4 separate regions of the Homo sapiens genome follow, and regions 2, 3 and 4 are each linked to region 1. The links are contacts of gene promoters, found by promoter capture Hi-C in blood cells and fetal thymus (Javierre and others, 2016). All regions are on one chromosome and are shown on one strand. The core of a region is centred on a gene start or on the middle of the fragment in contact, and the rest is flanking DNA. Distances in the headings are between cores, read along the strand shown.

Region 1 (2,700 bases), core at 178-2,677:
CTTGCTAATTCACCTTGCAGATCTTAGGACTTGCCCACCTCCATGACTGTGTGAGCCTATTCCTTATAATCAATCAATCAATCGATCAATGAATCACCCATTGGTTCTGTTTATCTGAAAATCCTAACACAGCATTGTTCCATGAAAGCAATGGATGAGATAATTTTTGTGTCTCTGACATAATTCTGGCATAGCAGCATAAAAACTGGCTGCTATGAACATAACATGAGAAAAACCTTATGGTTGGAGGCTTTTTCTTATACTAGATTTTTAAAAATTATGACAATTACTTGTAAGGTGTTCTAGATGTTATCTGCAAAGAGAACCAGAGTAGCAATACTTAGGCAACCCCAAAGACCTTTGAGAAGTCACAGGTCAAGGGGGAACATCATATGGGGATCAGGCAAATCCACTTATGGTTGCTGGGCGCCATCCTGCTAAGTAATGGCCTTCACTCTAGTGCTGCCAGCCATGTAACAAAAAATAAAATAAAATAGGCATGCTCTAAACAAATAAGTTTACAAAATAATTGAGTCAGTTTCTTTGCTGAAGCCTGTGTTCCCTGTTTCCTATTGCAAAAGCCATTTATCAAGCATTCACAGCTTGTGAAAATTGCTTTATGAAATAGAAGACCACAAGACTGGGTTGCCTGAAATCCTTCTGACCACAACTGGGGGCAACAGGAACTCAAGAGGGCCTGGCTTCCAAGACGATGGAGCCACCAGCTGGCAAGCTGAATCCATCATGCCACTTAGAAAGTGCAAGTGTTCAGGAATCAAACAGGACTCAGAGGTAATCCACAGGCCACTTGCTGAGTCCTGCCACATCTGCACCCGATACCATTTGAAACGTAGATCCTGATCCCTTTGGAGGAAATGGGTGAAGGAGAAGTATGAAGTGCAGGTGCAGTAGCAGAGTGGAACTTGAGTCACCCATTCCCCAAACTCCCCCAGACACCAACACTGCTTCCATCTCCTTCCCTTCAAACTCTCTGCCATGGGACCACCAAAATTGAAATATTTTGGCAAATTTGTGTAATAACCAATGCTTCAGAAGAAAAAAGGAAAATTCCATCTAATTAATATCCAGAAAAAAAGGGAGGTAAATGGTAAATGTGGGCATTACTTCTTGTCGCACAGATCAGTTCTGTGGGTTCTCGGAAAGGGAGGGCACCCTCTCTGTGTATGTGTGTATGCCCGAGAAAGTCCCTGAAGGCAGCTTTCTGTAATTCAACCCTCCTGAAACACTGAACAGCTAGTGAAAAGATTTCTCAGCAGATGCCGAACAAGAGGGGACATCTGATGCCTGTTTTATTCAGTCACCAGTAATCTCTCTTGCATCACTCACTTTTGTTAGAATTGACTAATAGGCAACATGCCTTCACTTGAGCCCAGCAGATATAAGCACCATCCTTACAGGCTGGCTTCCTGACTGAGAGCAGGGAGCAGCAGGCATGGGGCATGCCGGGTGCCAGTTCAAAGCCCTGCTGTGGAAGAATTGGCTCTGCAGACTCAGGAACCCGGTGAGTGCTTGCCTTGGTTTTCCATAGGGTTCCAGTGAGGTCTGGAGCAAGATCAGGGTCTATTCTTTCCTGCCTGCCTCTGCCTCCTGGCAGGTAAAAACACTCATGCTGCAGGGAATTTGGGGAGGTTGGATTATTTTAAATCAAAACCCGTCCCAAGGGCCAAAGTAGCTGAACACTTTAATGACCAGGATGAAATCAAGGCTGAAGAATTTATCAGAAAAGGGCAAATTTAGAAAAATTCTAAAAACAAACAAACAAAAAAGCAGGTGGAATTGAACTATAATTTGTGTTCTAAGCATTCGTTGTAAAAACTGAACAGTGAATTCTCAGGTTTAAGGAACAAAGCATTTGCTGCATTTAATGCATAAGCAGAATGCTACAGGTACTGACTCCGAAGCACAAGACTGCACAGTGTGCCTCACCAGAGCAGGGTATGACACATCCACTCTGTTATTCTGTAGGGTCACCATCTTTAGTGTTAATTCACATCTATTTAGAACTGTATTCAAATTACATTAGCAAGGTTTTCCTAAGGAGATTGGAATTGTTCAAATGAAACTTGTGTGAATACTTATGCAAATATCCTGTAAGTGTACGTTTTTGTGAAATAGAAATCAATTGCTTGTTATTATGACTAACTTTATTCCTGATGCCACTATATAAACATTAATACCTATAAATGTCATTTTCAGGAGAAGTAGATGTGCAGTAATTTACCTGCATCGTTTCTGATTTTAAGGTCTACAGTTAACCTATGGGAATTTTCTGCTGACAAATGCTTTGGTTTGAAGAGATTCAGTAATTGACATTGAATTACATTTTGCTGAATCCTCCGAGCCAGAATATTCTATCTCTCTGTCTTGAAATAAAATACAAGTTAAAGGAGATGTTTTCTTTTTTATGTGATCTTTAGGATCAAAATAATTTCAGTTGAAAGTTTGTACAAAAGTTTTAAGTTGGCCGGGCGCGGTGGCTCACGCCTGTAATCCCAGCACTTTGGGAGGCCGAGGCGGGCGGATCACGAGGTCAGGAGATCGAGACCATCCTGGCTAACACAGTGAAACCCCGTCTCTACTAAAAAAACACAAAAAAATTAGCCGGGTGTGGTGGCGGACGTCTGTAGTCCCAGCTACGCGGGAGGCTGAGGCAGGAGAATGGCGTGAACCCGGGAGGCG
Region 2 (2,700 bases), core at 103-2,602, 260 kb before region 1:
GCTGGGATTACAGGCATGAACCACTGCACCTAGCCTCAAGTTGACTTTAGACTTAACCCCTGATAAAAGATGTAATACTGATATAGTTCGGATGTTTACCTCTCCCTAATCTAATGTGTCGAATTGTAATACCCAAAGTTGGAGGTAGAGCTTGGCGGGAGGTGACTGGATGATGGGAGTGGATTCCTCATGAATGGTTTAGTACCATCCTTTGGTGGTGTCCTTGCGATAGTGAGTGACTTCTCTTGAAATCTGGCTATTTAAAAGTGTGTGGCATCTCACTCTCTCTCATTTCTGCTTTTACTGTGTGCTGTGCCTGCTGCCCTGTAGCCTTCTACCATGATTGTAAACTTCCTGAAGCCTCCCCAGAAGCTAAGCAAATGTCGGCACCCGTGCTTACTGTAAAACCTGCAGAACCGTGAGCCAATTAAGCTTCTTTTCTTTATAAGTTACCTAGTTTGAAGTATTTCTTTATAGCAATTGGAGAATGGCCTAATACAAATACCAATTCCTTACTTTATTCATAAAACAACAAAAGAAACCAATGAATATGTATCAAAGTTGCAGATGCTTAAAATTATTATAATAGAGCAAGTCCTGATGTGAAATAGAGATATACTTAGCCTTCTACTTAATCTTCTAGGAGTTAATCCAAAAACAAAAAGGAAAACAGTGAATAAAAATAAAAACTTTTTCTCTCTTTGTTTAGTGAAACTAGGAGGTAGCTAGCATGTTCAGAATACAAAATAGACGCAAAAACTGCTAAAAGCGGCAAATATCAAGCATGCATGAGCAGGAACCGTATTGAAGGAAGAAAACAGAAAACGTCCTAAAGTGAGAACTCAGTTGCCAAAGGGCTCAGTGGCTGTGAATATCATCAACACGCATACATGTGTGTACGCAACACACACACACACACTCCACCAGCAGTTAGTTCAGAAAAAAATGCAACTCTTTAAATTATGAGTAATGCTGTGAAGAAAAAAAAAAAAAGAAAGGAAGGAAGAAAGGAAGGAAGGCAGGAAAGAAGAAGGGAGGGAAGGATAAAGGGAGAAAAGGAGGGAGAAAAGACCATTCAGCATGTACAAGATACTATAAGAGTCAAGAGGGAAAATTCAGGAAATACTCATAATAGATTAAGATAATTTATCAGAAAAACACTGTCCACAAGAACAGGACTGAACAACTTGAGGAATCGTTATCTTCTGAGATGGAAGACCAGAGAGCATCTGGTCTTGGAAGGAAACAAAGTCAACATTTTAGAGTATAATGGAGAATGGAAAGTGTAGAACACAAAAGAAGGGATGCAGAGGAAAATATGAGGAAAGCGGATCAGATGAAAAAGGAAAAACAAAAAAGATTTGAAAAGACAAAAGAGAACTAATAGATGTATGCCAGTCTCCCAAAAAGAAAGCTGACATATTGGAATAGAAACAATGTAAAGATCTAATTCAAGAAATCTTTCCTGAAACAAAGGACACATTGAAAAGGTACACCATGTGCTGGAGAAAGGTGACCCAGAGTGGCCAGCACTTAGACACGTGCTGGCAAAGCTGCTGGAGTTGCAAATAAAGAAATAACTACCGGCTGGGCACGGTGGCTCAGACCTGTGATCCTAGCACTTTGGGAGGCTGAGGCGGGTGGATCGCTTGAGGTCAGGAGTTTGAGCCTGGCCTGGCCTTCATGGTGAAATGCCATCTCTACTAAAAATACAAAAATCAGCCAGGCGTGGTGGTGTATGCCTGTAATCCTAGCTACCTGGGAGGCTGAGGCATGAGAATCACTTGAACCCAGGAGATGGAGGTTGCAGTGAGCCGAGATCATGCCACTGTACTCCAGCCTGGGCAACAGAGTGAGACTGTGTCTCAAAAAAAAAAAAAAAAAAAAAAAGAAAAGAAATAATTCTCATGACAATCACAGAAAAACATTAATCAATGACGGGGAAAAAAGAAGGCTGACTTTGGAATCACCACAAGGTAAGAAAGACAGAATGGAGAATTTCAGGGAGGCTTCTTCAGACAGAGTGTCAGGGCCACCAGCTGAATTTCTGATTCAGTAGGTCTGCAGTGGGCCTGAGAGTCTGTATTCTAAGCCAGTCTCAGGTGGTCATGATGCTGCTGGGCCAAACTTGGAGAACCATGGTTACAGGAGAGAACAGAATGGAAAGACAACCAGATTCCCCAGGAAAAGAACATGTGTCCAAGGAGTCCAGAGCCAGCACACTGTCGTTCCAACATAATGGCAGCAACAGTTTTGAATATGGGAACTTAGAGGAAGCTTATTGCATGAATTTTCCTAAAAAAAATCTACTAGAGGACAAACTTCAGACAACCAAACAGGAACACCATGCCAAAAAAAAGCTGAGTGAGGACCGAATATATTAGCTCTAGAACCGGAACTAAGACTAATGTGGGAAAGCAGGTTGATATGATTTGGATCTGTGCCCCCACCAAATCTCATGTCGAATTGCATTCCCCAGTATTGAAGGTTGGGCCTTCAGCACTGGCGGTGAGGAGGTGGGTGGTGATTGGATGATGGTGGCAGATTTCTCATGAATGGTTTAGTGTCACCCCCAATCCCTGCCACTTGGTACTGTCCTCATGATAGTGAGTTCTCATGAGATCTGGTCTTTTAAAAGTGTGTGGCACCTCCCCCCCTCTTGCTCCTACTCCGGCTATGTAACGTGTGTGTTCCCTGTTC
Region 3 (2,807 bases), core at 280-2,779, 470 kb after region 1:
TCCAAACTCCCAACAATTTGGAGTAATTACTTCCTTTTTCTCCCTCTGTGTGAAAATGGACTTAGAATTTACTCATCTTAGGTCAATATGATAATAATCATGTTTCTATTTTATTTAACTCTCAGGTTTGGTGATGGTTATACAGTCAAAGTTTGGCTCTGTAAGGAAGCAAATCAACATTGCACTGTTTCTGACCACTTGAAGCTTTATTTTCCAGGAATTCAGTTCAAGGTAGTGCTAATATCTTGTATTATTTCTTTGTTTTCAGCTAAAAAAAAATAATAAATGTACCTGTCTTTTTTTGTTTTTATTCTATGCTGTTATAAGATACTACTTGTTACCTTAGCCACATTGCAAAGTATAGGCCCTGCCTCCCTACCAAAAATAGCATGGATAGCTGATATTGCTTGACCACTCTGAAGAGTGACAAGCCTGCTTAATTGCTTCCTGGATTGGCCAGAGCAGCCTGTGATTACATATCACGCCTCTTATCTGTGGGCACAGGTCCATTGCATAACTCATCTTGTTCAGCATAGAAGATTGCAAAAGCTAATCTCTTCCATATATTTGCTGTAGGGTTTATAGGCTTGATGGTTTCAGCATTGCTTCACAGAAATAGCCCTATGCTTGAGATCACAATCCTCTATAAACTTGCTGTCATCAAGTATGGTCACTGAACCAGCAGCATCTTCATTGCCTGGGACCTGTTAGACATGCAGAATCACAGGCCCCAACCTATTGAATGGGAATCTGCATTTTAACAAGGTGACCCGGAGATTCCTATGAACACTGAAGTTTGAGAAGCACTGTCTAAAAATCTCTTGGATAACTGTGGGATGCTAGTTTATTATAACTTCTAGGAGGCTGTAGTCCATAAAGTAGTTATGTTCTATTTATTTCAACAACTGTCATTTAGTGAAATCCTACTATGCAAGAAGCATGCTGTGTGAGACTGTCATTCATGCTCAATTATGACTCTGAGTCACCCTATAAAACAGACATAATTATCTCCATTGGCATACATGAAGACAAGGATCAGAGGTTTAAATATCTTCCCAAGTGTTGCTCAGCTAATGATGAGAATAGTGAGAGATAAGCCCAAGTCCCAGTGTAAAACTCAGGGCCCTTCCATCCGTCTCTGTTAGGCCATGTTAAATTCCTACATTTCAAATATCTTTGGGCATCTTATGATTCCTTAAACAGGGCTTCCCCATGCTGTTGCAAGGTTAGAGCATATCAGGGGGCAGAACAGCAATGCCACTCAGTTGAACGTTGTTTGTCAAATATACCCCATGAAAAATTGTCATCAATAAGCATTCATTGGAGACTCACAAAATTAAGTGTAGGTTGAGAAAACGTAACTGAATTTTTTTGCCAATTAAATGTAGTATGATCAATTTTGTTTAATAATGCTAGTTATATGATACTTTTTTTTTTTTTTTTTTTGCTTTTAGGGACAGCACCTGAATTTATTAGAATATCATGTGCCAAAAAGATGGGGATGCCTAGCTGACTTGTTCAAAGTTATAGAGAACAATAAAACCTTCTTGAATATTAAGCATTATTCCATTAACCAAACCACTTTGGAGCAGGTATAGTATCTTGAATGATTCAGGAGGTTGAATTTTGGTCTGTTCATCAGACCTAATGTAGCCAATTTTAAAATTAATCGAATTGCTTCAATTCACCACTTTATTCAATTCATCTTGTTAAATTTTATAAAATTATGATAAGGATGGTGAGTGTCAGAAAGTTTGTTTACTGTATACCCTTCTACTTAAGATAGATATTCAGTAGAGTTTCAATTTGTTCATATTATTTTGGGCATTTAACTAATTAAATCATGTCACGTTAACCTTCCTATCTCCACCTTACTCAGCCCCACAAGACTTTTCGGGGGGGCTTCACTGTAATCAAATGATAGCTAACTTCTGGGGAAACAAAAAGCGTTTCATTTACTAAGAGTACCAGGAATATAAAAATACATCACGACATATTTCTAAAACCAGGCTTAAGGTATTGAGAACTTCTAGGTGATTTATTATTATAATTGTCTAGAAATATGAATGTTCTTAGAGTTGTGTCCTCAATGGATTTATATATTTATGTGATTTGGGAGGGAATGGTATGAATTAATGATCTGTGGTTTTTAGGGCAAGTTGGCCAGTGTTCTGAGACAATGTCTCCTTTCTAATAAGTGAGACCAAAGGGTTGTATTCTTATAAGTAAACAACATTTTTATGGTTTTTTTCAGGTATTTATTAATTTTGCTTCTGAGCAGCAGCAAACTCTACAATCTACTCTTGATCCATCCACTGACAGTCACCACACACATCACTTGCCCATCTGAGCACTAAAGAAGTTTCCATAAGGAATAAAACCTTGTCTTCCATTACAATTAACAGTCAAGGATAAAACAAGCACGCGCACAATCAAGGAGCTGGAACACACTCTCCAGGCCGTCAAATTATTCTCTTGTTCATTTTCTATTTTGAATCTCCTTGTTAGTTAATAACCACCAAATGGAAAGGTCATTCTTTCTGCAGACTTTTGGGGAGCTCCTCCAAAACATTTGTTCTCTTTACCATGCCAGATGGACACCAGCTTCTTTGTGACAAAGGCATGAATGATTTGACAGTGTCCAAACTGAGACATTCTGGAGCTGGAAAGCCTGTCACACTAGAGTGTGTGTGACATGTCCACTCTAAACATGTCACTTTTCTGTTAAGAAAACTGAGCCCCCTCCCCACAGGTTAAAAAACTTTAGTAACTTGTTTGTATAGAAAATAGTAACAAGGACTATTTTC
Region 4 (2,700 bases), core at 165-2,664, 450 kb after region 1:
TGGCTACAAAGAAGTCTAAGAAATGTAGACTCTAGCTGGGCACTTTGCTACTTAAATAAGGTTAGGTTTCTGTTCCCAAGGAAGATAGGGATCATGGTTGTGGAGTGGGAAGCCTGCAGCCTCACTTATTCACCTGACTGGATTCTTTTCCTCCATTGAGGGTAGGTCGTTAGGTTGAGCAGCTGAGCTGAACGGACTCTTGGGCTTTCAATTTAAGATTGTCATATGCTATGAAAGAGCCCTATATGGTATAGAGATTCATGAGTTTACGTGTGAGCACATGATAGAGTGTGTGTGTGTGTGTGTGTGTGTGTGTGTGTGTGTGTGTGGCTCAGTTAATAACAGAGGAGAGCTGGAGTGGAGTGGCACTCACCTAATAGCCACAGGTGGCTAAAACTATCCTTTTGGGCACTGATGTTTTGTCCCAGGCAATTAGGGATGCATCCTCAAATCCTCTGCATGTCATAAATTGAGCACATAATGGTGCCCTGGTAGCTAGCTGCCTTTGTACTTGCAGACACTGAGCATATTCCCAACTTACCTGGAGGGAACCATTAACAGCTGCATGCGGCATCTATTTGCTTTTCTCCTCCCTTGAACCTGATTGACATAGGAGGCTTAAGTCTGACTTGGTAAAAACACTCCTGTCATGGAAAGGAAATAAAACATGCTTCTGAAGCACAGAGTTTACAATGTGAAATACTCCAGGCCAATTTATGATTTTGGGGTGAGGGAGGATAAAGGCTGTGTATTTTGTTGTCGTTGTTGTTGTTTTCTTTTTTCTTTTTTTTTTTTTAGACAGAGTTTTGCTCTTGTTGCCCAGGCTGGTGTGCGAGTGCAATGACACGATCTCGGCTCACTGCAACCTCTCTGTCCCAGGTTCAAGCGATTCTCCTGCCTTAGCCTCCCAAGTAGCTGGGATTACAGGCATGCACCACCATGCCCAGCTAATTTTGTATTTTTAGTAGAGATGAGGTTTCACCATGTTGGTCAGGCAGGTCTTGAACTCCTGACCTCAGGTGATCTGCCCGCCTCAGTCTCCCAAAGTGCTGGGATTACAGGTGTGACTCAAGGCACCCAGCCTGTTTGTTTGTTTTTCTTTCTTTCTTTCTTTTTTATTTTTTATAAAGAAAACACAGCTTCAAATGATTTAAAGAAAATTGTTAAGATTATGAGAATTTACATTTCCTTGAGTTATCAACTGTAAACTTTGAGAACCAAGAATAAAAGTAGAATAAAGTTCAAAGGATCCCATCATAGATGTGTTATATAGCCATCTAAGTTAAAATATAAAGAATAGTGTAGAAGGGTTTGTTTGTGGATTTTTTTCCTAAAAAAAATGAAAGGAGGCAGAATCTTGTTTGAGCTCTCAAGCTACCACTGTCTGAGTAGCTGCAAATTAATGTATCACCTTATGTGACACCATATGCTTTAGTGTGGCAACTTTGACTTAATATATCTATAAACCATTACTATAATCATAACATCTCGGATTAAGATTGCATCACCACATAATGAAGTGGATCATTTAAAAGTGAAATAGATAATTCAGTATGTTTATGTCACTTTCACAAATGGGGAAGGAAGTTTGCACATGAGCACAAAAATAATTTCTGCCATGATGTGGAACTATGGAATGATGTGCTACTGAGTTATATTTTTCTATATTTTACTTTAGTTTAAAGCATCATATAATTCACCTGCTGCTACTAACCACTGAATTAATTCTCTTTACTAGAAATGATTTTAAGAGAGATAGTGCACCTCCATATCCTCAGCGTGTTTCACCTCACCTGCTATGTGTAATTTGTCATCTCATTTGTTGTCACAACATCATGTTGTATGAACACAGCATTGCTCTGACATAATTAGCTGGGAAGACTTTCTGATTCTCATGCCATTCTCATGCTGGACATTTTGGTTAGCTGCCTCTGGTCTTGGAAATTCAGGTCATGAACAGTATCACCCAGAGCTGTCACTTTATCAAAAGTAAACATTCGGCATTCATTTTTTAATATTTTCTGTAAGAATAAACAGAATGCTTTTCACTCACAATGAAGATGGAAAATAGAAGTGTTGGAGATATTTTTAGATGGGTGAAGTTGTTGGGGACTCAGACTCACATCATGAGTCCTGTTCATTCATACACATTTATTGAGTAACCACTTAATTAGAGATGATGAAAATGTGATTCCTAATCTCAATAAACTCGGCATAGTGTACAGGCAGAAACATAACAATGAATACAACACAATATGATAATTGTTCTAAGAGACTGGTGAACGAAATGCTGTGTTGTGCATCTCAGTTTAAACCTGCAAACATTACTGAATGTTTACATAGTGCCAGGGTCTTGGGATTGAGTGGGTAATAAGGCATGAGCCCTGTAAGAACTGGGCTAGACACTCAAATAAAAAAATTATGTAAGAAAGACCATTAGCACGACAAGAAGGTTTCAAAGCCCATGAGGTAGGAGTTAGGAGGAGGAAGAATGCACACACATTGTTTTAGGGGAAGGATTGGCACAGGTAGTTTTATGGGTGAGGAGGAATTTAAATCACGTGTATGCTTAGCCAGCTAATCAACTATGAATGCATTAGAGGTAGTGGCACAGAGATGAACAATGTAAACCATGTTTGAAATAGCTTGATGGCAAGTGGAATACAGGTGGAATCATGCGGCATAAACTTGAAGGGAATC

Evidence for each region. The method cuts DNA at HindIII sites, captures the fragments that hold promoters and counts their contacts. A CHiCAGO score of 5 or more calls a contact.
Region 2: a contact is called between a fragment that was not itself captured here and the fragment with the promoter of ABCA13 in region 1, in 6 of 17 cell types (activated CD4 T cells, non-activated CD4 T cells, naive CD4 T cells and 3 more). The highest score is 8.3, in activated CD4 T cells.
Region 3: a fragment that was not itself captured here is called in contact with the fragment with the promoter of ABCA13 in region 1 in 1 of 17 cell types (neutrophils); the score reaches 7.4 in neutrophils.
Region 4: a contact is called between a fragment that was not itself captured here and the fragment with the promoter of ABCA13 in region 1, in 1 of 17 cell types (neutrophils). The highest score is 5.4, in neutrophils.

The regions. Positions count from the first base shown.
Region 1 is chr7:48,170,031-48,172,730 of GRCh38, forward strand. ABCA13 (ATP binding cassette subfamily A member 13) reads left to right here and starts at 1,428. Exons shown (of 62, transcript NM_152701.5): 1 at 1,428-1,522. The coding sequence starts at 1,454. The HindIII fragment of the contact is 8,502 bases long and covers 1-2,700 here.
Region 2 is chr7:47,910,949-47,913,648 of GRCh38, forward strand. All of the region lies in intron 8 of PKD1L1 (polycystin 1 like 1, transient receptor potential channel interacting), which reads right to left. Among named protein-coding and RNA genes, the nearest start is that of PKD1L1, 36 kb to the right of the region's middle. The HindIII fragment of the contact is 1,845 bases long and covers 431-2,275 here.
Region 3 is chr7:48,643,163-48,645,969 of GRCh38, forward strand. ABCA13 (ATP binding cassette subfamily A member 13) reads left to right here. Exons shown (of 62, transcript NM_152701.5): 60 at 126-231; 61 at 1,455-1,592; 62 at 2,255-2,807. The coding sequence ends at 2,350. Among named protein-coding and RNA genes, the nearest start is that of LINC02838, 64 kb to the right of the region's middle. The HindIII fragment of the contact is 2,655 bases long and covers 203-2,807 here.
Region 4 is chr7:48,623,772-48,626,471 of GRCh38, forward strand. All of the region lies in intron 59 of ABCA13 (ATP binding cassette subfamily A member 13), which reads left to right. Among named protein-coding and RNA genes, the nearest start is that of LINC02838, 83 kb to the right of the region's middle. The HindIII fragment of the contact is 4,277 bases long and covers 1-2,700 here.